2 separate regions of the Homo sapiens genome follow, and region 1 is linked to region 2. The links are contacts of gene promoters, found by promoter capture Hi-C in blood cells and fetal thymus (Javierre and others, 2016). All regions are on one chromosome and are shown on one strand. The core of a region is centred on a gene start or on the middle of the fragment in contact, and the rest is flanking DNA. Distances in the headings are between cores, read along the strand shown. Region 1 has its middle 37 kb from the start of TBX19. Region 2 holds the start of SELE (selectin E).

Region 1 (6,329 bases), core at 2,126-4,625, 1.4 Mb after region 2:
CTCCTCCCTATGTAAACCCATTGATGAGGTTCCTACCTCTTAAACAACAGTTAAATAATTGATCCTGGGCAATGTCATCACCACACCCCCAGGACCTCCTTTGGAACGCCTAATGTCTGAACTGATGAGTAAGCCCTATCCCTGTGTTTCAGAGTGCTGTGAGCCTGCATGACTCACCAACTCTGATTCTTGATCTGTTTTGTGAACTCCCACTAGTTCTGGGCCATGCTCTGGGCCTTGAGTTTTACAATAACTTTAAAGATGAAAATCTTAAAATCACATGCCAAAAAAAAAAGTGAGAGACAGAGATCACATGCTATTTTCCTAGGTCTCAGATCATAGCCAAGTATTTGGCGGGGTACATTTGATTGGGCTGGGAGAGATAAACAGGATTGTCTACGATGAAATAAAACAGCTGCTTTTACTGCAACCAATGCTTCTAGCTGCTCTACATAACAGTTTGCCTTCTGTAAATAATTGTGCTAAACAATAGACCCACCTACAAGATGCTAAGAAAAGTGCAACCGTAGGAATTTAAGGCCAGCTGTTAGCTTTTCTACTCTCTCTGCTCATCTCTGCCCTATCTCTTTTCAGAAAAATATTCATTCCCCATGTGGTCAACACAGCAGGATTCTGGACTCCACAAGTACGCGTCCAATGTTACAGGTTGACCAACTCATCCTGGGAAAATCCAGGCTGTCTCCATTTTAAATTGAAATGGAAATTTTATTGGAAATAAATGGAAATTAATGGAAAGTTTATTCCATTTAAATTGAAATTTTAAATTGAAATGCCTATATCCCAGGAAGCCCCTCAGTCTGAGGCACTGACAAGAAAGTATCAATGGTCCCTATATCTTATCCTCTCTGCAGAGCAAGAAATTTATGGCATCATCTTGCTGGTAACTGACTTGGCAGCAGGCTGACCAAACAGTAGCATAACTTACACATACGGGCTCCCAATTCAAAGTCTAATCAATCATTATAAAGATTACAAAGTCCTTCTCCCTTTCATCACATTTGTGAACTTTAAAACTGCAAAGTTAAGTCTTGGATTTCTGAATGCTTTGGCTACAACACATTTTTGTTTTGTTGTCAATAAGTGCACTTTTTTAAATGTCTATCCTAAAATCAATCACCTCAATACCAATCAATATTTGCCAGGCTTCATTAGATTTTGAGATCACATTGCTCTTAATCAAATTATAATGTGCTCTTACCCACATTCTCCTTCTCCAGGAAATTCAGACTTTCACCAGAATCTGCCCCAAAAGGTTTCTGGAAATGCCCTAGAGATGCTATCCAGTCCTTGGAAGACCAGCAATCTGCCACTAGGCCCCAGATGGTCCCTGGCCCATGAAGCCCTGCTCATTCCACGATCTCCCTGTCTCCCGCTTTCCCACGCCCTACGCCCAGCCTCCTCCCAAGTGTGAACACAGACTCTTTTCCCTAATCGCCACCGCAGCCCTGGGAATCTGATGTAAATGTAACAGGAAACCAAGGGGAAGTGCCAGCTGAGTAACGTAACTGCTCCTGCTTGGGACAATCCTCAGTACAGGGTGACATTGGGTTGTGAATGGGAACAAAAACTTCATCGTCAGGTAGGTCTGAATTCTGCCCCTACTAGTTGTGTTACACTGAAAACCCCATCTACGCTGTCTGAGCTGGCTCCCTCCATCTGTAAGACGAGGAAAATGATAGATAGTATCTATCCCATACGAAAACTCATACATGAATGTTCAAAAAGTGGAAACATCCCAAATGCCCATCAGCTGATGAATGGATAAAAAAGATGTGGCTGTATTTATCAATGGAATATTACTTGGCAGAAAAAGGAATGCAGTACTGATATACGCCACAGCATCAAGGATCCTCTAAGTGAAAGAAGCTAGTCACAAAAGACCATACATCACATGACTCCAGCCAAATGAAGTGTCCAGAATGGGAAATCTATAGAGAAAGAAAGGAGATAAGTGGCTGCCTAGGGGAGGGGGTGGAGGTGAGTAGGAAGGAAGTGGGCAGTGACTATTAATGGGTATAAGCTTTCTTTGTAGGGTGACAAAAATGTTCTAAAATTAGATTATGGTTATGGGCACACAACTCTGTAAATATACTAGAAAAGTCCAATGAATTTCCCCTTTAAATAGGCTGTGTAAATTATATATCAATAAAGCTATTAAAAATAATAATCTGTCTGGGCCCGGCGGTTCATGCCTGTAATCGCAGCAATTTGGGAGGCCGAGGCGCGTGGATCACCAGAGGTCAGGAGTTTGAGACCAGCCTGACCAACATGGTGAAACCCTATCTCTACAAAAATACAAAAAAATTAGCCAAGCATGACGGTGAGCGCCTGTAATCCCACCTACTCGGGAGGCTGAGGCAGGAGAATTGCTTGAACCCAGCAGGCAGAGGTTGCAGCGAGCCAAGATCGTGCCGCTGCACTCCAGCCTAGGCAACAGAGCAAGACTCTGTCTCAAACAAACAAATAACAACAAAAAAAAACTTTTCTAAAGAAATACGATCTTATAAAGACACAACTTTGACAAAAATATACAAAGAACTTTTTATCAAACCAAACATGTTTCCCCACCTAAAATTTCCAAGTACTGCTAAGGATTATTTCTAAAAATTCTGGATTAATACCTGTGGGGTGCCTACCATGTACCTACCAGGCACATGTGCAAGGTGTTGGAGGTACAGCAATGGAAGACAGTTTTTGTCCTCAAGTATAACCAAGACAGTCATCCACCCTGTAATAACACAATTAGCCATTTCTCTAATTTAAATTTCTAACTCTAGTAACCATCAACACCCACCTGCTCAAGTTAACAGAAATCCATGGAGTATCCTCAATCTCTCATGACTTCCTGTCATTACAACCCTGGACATTTTCCCCCAACATATCCCACTTAGCAACTTTAGCCCAGGCCCCAAGTGTTAACGCTTGAGGATCCACTCTTTTAACCCACACACCAGCCATTTTTCTCAAGGCATGGCAGTGTCCAGGTGGCTGCATAAGTCCACATTGGGTCCAGGAGCATCTCTTACCTCCAGTTGCTCTTGTGTGGAAACCAGTCATCCATTCAAACTACTCCTCCCATTGTGGTAATATAATTTTGTCTTAGAGGAAATATACTTTTCCTGCTGCCCAACCTTGGTCTGGGCTAACCCAAGCCATCCAATATATTTCACTACATTTTAACCACAAATAGAAAAGGTCTTTCCTTCTAAGAGATTACTACGTTCCCACCTAAAATATGTCTGATTCCTCCTCAGCAACCTCCAAGCTCCAAGCCCTCCCCATCTAATAAGTATGTAGGAGGGATACCACAGCTCCATCCTCCAGAACCAGCCCTGGTTAACCCAAAACTCCTTGTTAACACTCCTCCCCAAACTCCACCCCCTAAAAAGTGTTCTTTCAGAACAAAGTGAATCTACCCCAAAGGTTTATTGACTTATTCTCTAGGGACAGGGAACTCATCACTAAATAGACATACTTGTGCATACACACACACACACACACACACATAAACACACACAGTTACTCCTACAAAGTGCTCCAAATAAGAGTGGTCATGACCAGAAAATGTGAATTTCCGATGTTTCCATGTTGAGAATGAGAGATTGACCAACTTCTCACTCCCAACTAGTTGAATTCTAAGTCCTCACCTGGGCCTGACCAGTTGCTCTGGCCTCCGGGTTTCCCAGACGCCAGTTTTATTTCAGTAGCCTAGGTACTTTGGCAGGAAGGGGGCTGGAGAACTGAAACGATTGGCTGGAGATGAAATCACAGGGACACCTAAAACTGTCTTCGTGTGGCTGAGTCAGTTCCTGGAAGAGGGCCTCAGGACCAGGTGGCATCTCTTGTTTTGTCACAATGCTAAATCTGAAAGATATCTCAAAGACCAGTTCTTTAGGTTTCACAATAGTGATGTTAGCTATAGGAGTAGATGGGGGAGTTATAAATCATGTGACCCCCAGTTTTGTGATTCTGGGGCAGTAAACAACTTATAGAAAAACAAACTAAGCGATGGCAGGTCATGGTTTAACTATGCCTATTCTACAGCAAAGTCCAAGGCCCTACCACAATTTTAGCCTTGTCTTATGAACGCAGCTTCAGTCTACAAAAAAAAAAAGAAATTTAGCCTGTGAGGTTAGAAGCAAGATGGAGTCAGTCACGTTAGATTTCTCTCATTACTTATTCCAAAAAGGTAGTTTCACCAAGAGTTTGGGGGGGTTCTATTCCTAGAAGGTTGGGGGGTTGGACAGACTACCCCATAGATGTGTCTATAATGATGATGATGGAAAAGTTTTGGTGTCTTCAGACCACAGAGGCTGTTCCTTTATATCTTTTGTGGCACCACATATCCCTACCTTAACCTCTGTTCCAGGATGCCCGTACTCTCTCTGTTCACCAACCTGGCCAGTAGCCAACAAGTGGCTCAAGGATGCCCGTACTCTCTCTGTTCACCAACCTGGCCAGTAGCCAACAAGTGGCTCAATAAAGTGGGAATGGGTGGAGAAAATAAAAAGGAAGGAGTTGAAAGAAGGGCCACTTGAATGCCCCAGTTGCCATCCCCTACTTTGGCTGACCCACAATTTCCGTAAAACAGAATTCATATTCTTCACAAATGTGACATTTTAACTTGCTGATATTCACTCAAATCTATTCTAGTCTTGAAGAAAGTGGTGAAGACCTACCAAGCTTCGAATATCCTTTATTGAGTTTTTTTCTTAATAACTTAGGTGATGAAAACATTCCTCCCCTAATTTGACCACCATCCAGTTCTGGGGGGTGTCCACCAAGTGACACGAAGGGAATCAGCAGTTTCCCATAAGCATCTAGCTAAGCATGGTGGACAGAGGTGGTTGGTAATGAGGCTGGCTCATCCAGGGAAGGGAGGGCTGGTGAGGTCACACAGACTCAAATAAAGGCCCCACAGTAGGGGACACTTTCCAATAGGCCAGGCTTCAGGGAGAGTTAGAATCTCTACCATCTGGCTAAAAGTATTGCATAACTCTTCTATTCAGGTGGGATTTCAGTTTCTCTTAAATTTCATGAAATAGTCCAGAAAACCTGAAAGGCACCATTTTTGTTTTATAGTGAGTTGAGTAGAGAAGATACATGAGCAAGGAAATGGTATACAAAACTCCAAAGTTTGTCTAACACATTACAGAAGCTAATCTGTCACTTACTAAACTGACTTATGTAACTAGTGTTGTTTCTTCTGATCAGAAATTAGCCCTAGACTATTTAAAGAAAAAAATAGAAAGTGTCTCTGGCTAGATAGCTAACAGCAAATAGAGATCCTATTTGTGGAACCAGCTATCATGGTGTGTGTGTTTAAGAATCACAGCAGGTTCCAAGCTGAGTATCCTACAAGACGGAGAGACGTGATCACCCCAAACTCAGCTAATGCTCATGTTATCATGCTGCAGAGGACCCCATTCACCTGAGCAATATAAATGAAAATATAATGGAGGCTACGAGCTTCTTTCTGTTCTGTGTCCCTGGGCCAGGTCTTCTGTCTGCTCCAGGCTAGGGGAAGTGCAGGAAGGGTGAGACTCAAGGTGGGTTTTTATTCCCTAATTACACTTGCTGAGCTCTTGGTACAGGACATGTGAAGGACTTGGTGCCAAGACTTGCTGCAGTGACCAGTAAAGAGGCCTTGGTCAGACCTGCTGTGGCAATTACAGGCCACAGTAGCCTAAAGTTCTAGCAGATTGAGAAATGACCATCTGTTATAACTTACCAAAGTACTGTCTTGCAGAGATACTAATATATTAATACCTTAGTGACCTCTAATGGTATTGTAAAGGGACTGGGAAACAGGAACAATGCTGCCTTAGGGGCATGCTGACCAGACAGCTTTCCAAATGCATGGATCCATTGTGCCTTGGCCACTCACACGCCAACTAGTGGCCCAGAGCGCTGGCCAGGCAACCTGAAGTCAGGCAATGAGTCTTCCCTGGACACCACGTAGCTGGAGTAGTATTGTTTCCTGAGATCCAAAAAACAGAACAGCACAGAAATATTGGGCAGTGACACCAGTTGTGACACCATAGCATGTTAAAGGACCTTTCGCTATAGAAAGAGCCAAGGACTCAATAGTACCATGTTTGGACCCCTCAGACTAAGCCTTGGAGTGGGCTGGGTTTGCACGGGTTCAGCTGATGGAATAGTGGTGGAAGCAGCTGAGCCAATGCTAGGCTCCAAGTGGAACTTTAGACTCCTCAAGTGGCGGCCCTGAGAAGGGCTGCTCAGCCAGTGCAGTCTAAAGTCAATGTTTGGAGAACTGCTCATCACCCAGGTCTGGAAACCTCACTCCC
Region 2 (7,076 bases), core at 4,568-7,067:
TCTTGCTTTTTTTTTATTGGTAAGAATTCTTATACATTTACTTTCCATGTGTAAGAATTCAAAATGCTACTCACCCTAAATTTTCCTTGTATTTTCCCAGCACTTTACAAGTGGGGTTCTGGCCTTCCAGTTCCGAAGAGAAGTGTCACAATGATAGTAAATTTTGATCAAAATTCTGGTACCTATAGCTGAGCACCAACCACGGGGTCTTACTAACATTTTCTCCAAGTTAGGTGGCCCTAGGCCAATACATCTAAGTGTGATAGGATCTGGTCATCTTACACATTCTGTATTAGAATCATCTGAGATACTCATTTAAAGCCCAAATTCTTGGGCGCCACCCAGACCTGTTGAGTCAGAGCCTCTGAGTATGAGACCTGAAGATGTGCATTTTAGGTGAGTTGTCCAGGTGATTCCTCTTTATTCTAAAGTCTGAGAACCCTACACTTCCCCCTGGGTGTGGGAGAAAAGAGTGAGGTAGAGCCCGGAGCTCCTACTCGACTCAGATATTATAAGATGTCTATAAATTCCAAGTGAGTAAACATGGCTTTCTGGGAAATAAACTTAGAACCAGACACATTTTCATCAAATATATTTAGGTTTTGATCAAACAAAAAATGCCATTCTCTACTGTGGTGATACACATTTTCTTTCACAATTTTGGGAATGCAAGAAATACCATGTTTGTATTTTGCAGATAGGGTGGAATCTTTATTGGGATTTCCTCCCTCTACCTAAGACTCTGCAAAGGTAACTTAGATGTTAGCAGAGTAGAGCTTTTTTATGGGAGAGAGGGAACTAAGGCTTTCAAAACTAAGCACTCAGGGGTAAAATAAGCCTTCGCAGAGGTAAGGGAACAGAGTGCCTCAGGAAGGCAGGAGGACACCACTGCCCCTGCTTCCCGGTCACATTCACCAAATATAACTTCACTCCTCGATAGATGCTTTTGCCACGTGTGGTTGTGGCCAGTGCTGCTTTCCACTAAACCCAATAATCTCCTGTCCACAGGGTGGCCTTGGTTAAAATTCTAACATTTGTCTTGGGGTCCCCAATCTCTTCTTTCTGGCTATCTCTCTGTCTCCCACTCCCTTTGCCATAAAAGTGAGAATGAGTGGGCCTGGGCACACAGCAAAACTGGTTAAAGTCTTTGATGCCTGATTAAAGGGTGTGGAGGAGAGGACAAGAGACTTCCAGGAAGAGACAATAAAGCCAGGAAGGGTGACACCTCAGAGATTAAATAGCACTGGTGGCAGACACCGGGGTGTGCCTGAGTTTGCACCGTCTTCTTTCCTCTTTTCATTCCCATCTATGTAGCGGATGCTTCCCCCATGCGAGAAACTGCCAAGAGGGTCCATGTGAGGCGAGGCTTGAAAACCGGCAATCCGGTAACAGCTAGCTACATCTTCAGAGCTTGGGAGATTCAGTGGAGCCTTGAAGCACCTCTAATCAGCCTGTTTCTTGGGGGTATATTTTGGATTATTTGAAGAGGGAGATGATATTCATAATATTCAACATGCCCAACTATTCAAATCTTACCCAATTTCCTCTTCAACTCCCCCTGATTTGCCCCCACCCTCAAAAAACAAGCAATTGCCTCTTATGAAATCCTGATAGGAAAAAGCAGGTGAAGAAGCTATAGTCTGGTTGTAATCCCACTCCCACGCAGCGCTGGCCCAGGGCCTCTCCACGAGAGGAAAGCTGGGTCTGTCTATGGCCCCTTCAGCAGCCCAGGTAGCCAGAGGGGAGCCCATCAGCTCCCAGTATCCATGTACCTGATTTGCAGTGACAACCTCGGGGGCAGGGACACAGAAAATACTGTGGGAGAATGCAGGTAATTGTAAGGATGAATGGATTTTGAATAACATACCTCTGGTTAAAACAAGTACATATATTATATACATATAAATTATATACATACATGTACATATTGTAAACCAAAAAGTAACTGAAGCATATCTCAACAGATTAGAGGTTTATTTTGTCCCAGGTAAAAGAAACACAAATCACTGTAGGATCTGTGACCTGCGCTTTTTCCAAAGAGAGTTTTGGGAACTTCCATCTTTAGAGGGGAAAGAGCAAGCAGGAGGGGAAGAAAATAAACGAAAGATGGGTTGGCAATGAGACAAGTGTTTACATTGTGGCAAGGCTCTGTAACACTCAGTGAGTCTACACTTTACATGTAAAAAGAAGGGACTAGAGGGAAATTATGCATGGATCTCATGCTCAGTACATCTACATTTTATATAAGATAAAGTAAGCATGTGAAATTACAGGTATTTGGGAACAAAAGGAAGGCAGTTTTTGCATGACTCATTTCCCAAGCTTAACTTTCCCTTTGGCATAGTGAATTTGAGGTCTCAAGATTCTATTCTTCTTTCACAGTATTTTACATATATTTATATATAATATATATAAAAATATCTATATTTATATATAAAATATAAAAATATCTATATTTATATATAAAATATAAAAATATCTATATATATAAAATATATAAATATATATAAATAATATATATATTCCACATATATAATATATTGTAATTATATATATATACTCTACATATATTATATATTATATATAGTCTACATTTAAGTTACTGTTACTCACCTATCTCTTCCACTCCTCATTTCTCTTATCCTTCGAATATTGGGATCTCTCCCTGAAGCTTTCTCAATTTAGAAATAATCAGTTTAGAATTTAGAATAATCAGTTTGCCCTTTGACCTTAGAGAAAATTTGCTTTTGAATCAGGAACTTCTGGGAACTGTGGCTTAGGGATCAACTTTACCTAGGCATGGCTCCACCTGCCTTGCTTGTTTTTTCCTTTGTCCACTTTCTCCCTGCCTATGCACCGGGGATCCAGGGTCTGTTCTCACTGCATCCTCTCCCTACTGCTCACTGTCCCTGGGGTCCCTTCCAGCCCCCATGTCTCAGAACCCAGGACACAGTTATCTCAGTGGAGAGCTGTGATGGTCAAGGATGTCTCAGGAAGAAGAGGGCAAGAAGAGTACAGGAAACTTGGGTAGAACAAGGAATCTCGGGGCATAACAACAAAAGAAATCATGGTTTGGAGTAGCAGGTAAGGGAGTGGGCTCTGGATATCAACTGCCTGGTTTCAACCCTTAGCTCTGTGCTTTTGAATGAGATAAAATCCCCAGATTCTCAATTTCCTCATCTGTAAAATGGGGATAATAGGAGTACCTATTTCATAGGCTGTTGTACGGATTGAATAATCAATAGGTGAACATACAAAATGCTCAGAATATGGCCTGGCACATAGTAAGCACTCAATAAATGTTAGAGATTATAATTGGGGGTCCAGGACATATATATGTAAGTAAAATAGAAACTTCATCACCACTGGGGCTATTTTTAGATATCTTTGAACTAATTTTAAAAAGGGGAAGAGATAAACTATAAACTTAGTTATGAAAAATTCGCAATAATAAAGTTAGTTATCTAGGGATGTTAACGACTAATTTCTATTAGCAATATAATTATTAGGTACTTTATTGATATCGAAGATAAATTGTTTTTTAAGATTTGGCTACTCTATACATTTGACCATGCTTTTTAAAAATAGCAGATTATGTATTCATACTTTATTAAAAATAAAATACATACAGATAATGTATTAACCCAACTTGACATTCTGCCCTAAAATCTAAATAAACACTATATGAGTGATTACTCTTCTGAATTTATTGAAGCAACAACCACATTGAGCTAAGTAAAGTGGGATAAAGAATTGGAATAATGTCAGTATCTGGATCATGTAAGAGAGTGGTAAGGTGGAGGGAATAAATTCTATGCTTTTTGATAGGGGTTGAATTAAATTCGTTAATTAAGTTATTTTTTTCTAATCAGTTGTCTTTTTTGGAATTTTTCTTCTCTTTTCTTGTTTTTTTTTTGGGTCTTGACATCTTTATGAACACAGAAAGACCAGTGCTAACAAGTAAAGAGAAAAACGAGGCTTTTACCACTACTCGTTCAGGTCTGCTGACAGTACATTTTTAGATAGACCTCCTATTTTGAAAGGCTGTAGATATAGAATATTAGCTTGACTTGAGCTCTGAAAACCTACAGAATATGGAAATTAAAATGATCCCCATTTACTGTTACCATCATTTAGATAGGGTAAGATGCAGAGATGGGGAATGTATACAATCACCCAGAAGAAATGTCAAAATGAAGAGCAGGAATATAGGATACCACATACATCTCCTTCTGTTGCATTTGGAAACAAATTTCTTTTCTTTTCTTTTTCTTTTTTTCTTTTTTTTTGAGATGGAGTCTTGCTCTGTCGCCCAGGCTGGAGTGCAATGGTGTGATTTCAGCTCACTGCAACCTCTGCCTCCTGGGTTCAAGCGATTCTCTTGCATCAGGCTCCCCAGTAGCTGGGATTACAGGCATGCGCCACTACACCCCGGCTAATTTTTGTATTTTTAGTAGAGACAGGGTTTCACCATATTGGCCACGCTGGTCTGGAACTCCTGACCTCAGGTGATCCACCCACCTCAGCCTCCCAAAGTGCTGGGATTACAGGCATGAGCCATCATGCCTGGCCTAGAGACAAGTTTCTTTAAACTGTATTCTTGTTACTATAAAGGTGAAAAAAAGGGAAATTGAAAAAAACTTTAAAATCCTGAAAATAATAATGAAGGATATAAAAATTATCCCAAATCCTGCCATCCAGAGTTAGTCACTGTTAACATTGTGGAAGAATTTTTATTCTTTGCACATTAACATTTCAAAAATTTTAAACAAAATTTTGACCAATTAAATATATATATATAGTTTTCCGTTTTATTTTTTTTCTTTTCTTTTCTTTTTTTTTTTTTTTTTTTAAGACAGAGTTTCACTCGTTTCCCAGGCTGGAGTGCACTGGCGTGATCTTGGCTCACTGCAACCTCCACTTCCCGGGTTCAAGCGATTCTCCTGCCTCAGCCTCCCGAGTAGCTGGGATTACAGGCATGCGCCACCATGCCCAGCTAATTTTGTATTTTTAGTAGAGATGGCGTTTCTCCATGTTGGTCAGGCTGGTCTTGAACTCCCGGCCTCAGGTGATCCGCCTGCCTCGGCCTCCCAAAGTGGTGGGATTACAGGCGTGAGCCACTGTGCCTGGCCTCCTTTTTATTTTTTTCACTGAACAAACCATGAAACTTTCCCAGATGTAAATATCTATTTCCCATTTTTCTTTTTTTAAAATAAGGCATTATTTTAACCATTTGAGTGTTAGATATTATTTTTAGATAATATTTTAATTTAGGCATAACTGCCGTGCAAAATCTGAAGATTAATATCTACCTTGTGAGTCATTCCTCTGTGAGACAGTGCATGTTAAATATGTTGAATTGGCAGGTGAAAAAGGAAGAAAAAATGAGTAGTGATTGGTTATCCACAGCTATGAATGAGAAATTGAAGGTAGTAGACTATGGATGACAAACCTATTCTTGGTTTCCTTCTGTTTCTGAAATTCTAATTACTACCACAACTACATGAGAGACACTACTAACAAGCAAAGTTTTACAACTTTTTAAAGACATAGACTTTATGTTATTATAATTAAAAATCATGCATTTTTGTCATATTAATAAAATTGCATATACGATATAAAGGCATGGACAAAGGTGAAGTAGCTTCAAGAGACAGAGTTTCTGACATCATTGTAATTTTAAGCATCGTGGATATTCCCGGGAAAGTTTTTGGATGCCATTGGGGATTTCCTCTTTACTGGATGTGGACAATATCCTCCTATTATTCACAGGAAGCAATCCCTCCTATAAAAGGGCCTCAGCCGAAGTAGTGTTCAGCTGTTCTTGGCTGACTTCACATCAAAACTCCTATACTGACCTGAGACAGAGGCAGCAGTGATACCCACCTGAGAGATCCTGTGTTTGAACAACTGCTTCCCAAAACGGTAAGTGCAGAACGCTTTATAAGGGCAGCCTCGGGCCATGAAACACAGATATGCAAAAGGCCTTCTAATAAAAACCACATCTGTACAAGCTCTTATTGTATTGTAGCTAAAACCTGTCTTTTCTCTTTGACCTAAATAATGAAAGTCTTAAAATTTGTTTATTTATTTGATTAAACTCTGAAATAAAGATTATTGCACTAGTGTCCTTTGCCCAAAATCTTAGGATGCTGCCTTAAACATCATGGTAGAATAATGTAACTAGCTACCCACGATTTCCTTCTTTAATTCATTTTGTGTTTTATCTCCCCAGGAAAGTATTTCAAGCCTAAACCTTTGGGTGAAAAGAACTCTTGAAGTCATGATTGCTTCACAGTTTCTCTCAGCTCTCACTTTGGGTAAGTCAGTGCCATTAGACCAAGATTTCTCATTCTCGCACTATAGATATTTCAGACTGAAATATCCTTGCTTGTCTGGGGCTGTCCTGCACAGGATATCTGGCAGCATCCTTGACCTCTACCTGCAATGTGTTCTTCCCTGGGCTTGGGGTCATTTACTTTACCTCTTGGTGTCTCCCTTTCCTTAAGTGTAAAGTGTGGATCATAATGACCTATTTCCCAGATGCATTGTGAGGATTCAATAGCATGGTTCATGGAAAGTACCTCATACAGTGCTTCTTGGTGCATACTAAGTGCTCAATAAAGCTTAGTTATTCTGATTATTATTCTACTACAAAATGGGTATACTATAATGTTGTGAGTGAGTGTGGATAAGGTACCTAGTGGGTGGCAGTCACAAAAGAGATAAACAATAAGTCGCTGTTTCTTCATACGTACTTCTTACTTTTGAAAAGATGAGAAAAGTCTGGGCCATGTCACAAACATTGCCAAAAATAAGACAATAAAAAGCACAGTTGTCAGAGTTAAACCACAACAGTACCAAACTCTACCATTTCTTTTCTTTTTCTCCCACTAGTGCTTCTCATTAAAGAGAGTGGAGCCTGGTCTTACAACACCTCCACGGAAGCTATGACTTATGATGAGGCCAGTGCTTATTGTCAGCAAAGGTACACACACCTGGTTGCAATTCAAAACAAAGAAGAGATTGAGTACCTAAACTCCATATTGAGCTATTCACCAAGTTATTACTGGATT

The links. Contacts are between HindIII fragments. The CHiCAGO score rates a contact against its expected background, and 5 or more counts as called.
Region 1: a contact is called between a fragment that was not itself captured here and the fragment with the promoter of SELE in region 2, in 1 of 17 cell types (naive CD8 T cells). The highest score is 5.4, in naive CD8 T cells.

What each region holds. Positions count from the first base shown.
Region 1 is chr1:168,314,986-168,321,314 of GRCh38, reverse strand. No RefSeq gene overlaps it. Among named protein-coding and RNA genes, the nearest start is that of TBX19, 37 kb to the right of the region's middle. RefSeq lists an enhancer at 30-324. The HindIII fragment of the contact is 2,663 bases long and covers 2,044-4,706 here.
Region 2 is chr1:169,732,820-169,739,895 of GRCh38, reverse strand. SELE (selectin E) reads left to right here and starts at 5,817. Exons shown (of 14, transcript NM_000450.2): 1 at 5,817-5,925; 2 at 6,236-6,320; 3 at 6,898-7,076. The coding sequence starts at 6,284. The HindIII fragment of the contact is 3,955 bases long and covers 2,674-6,628 here.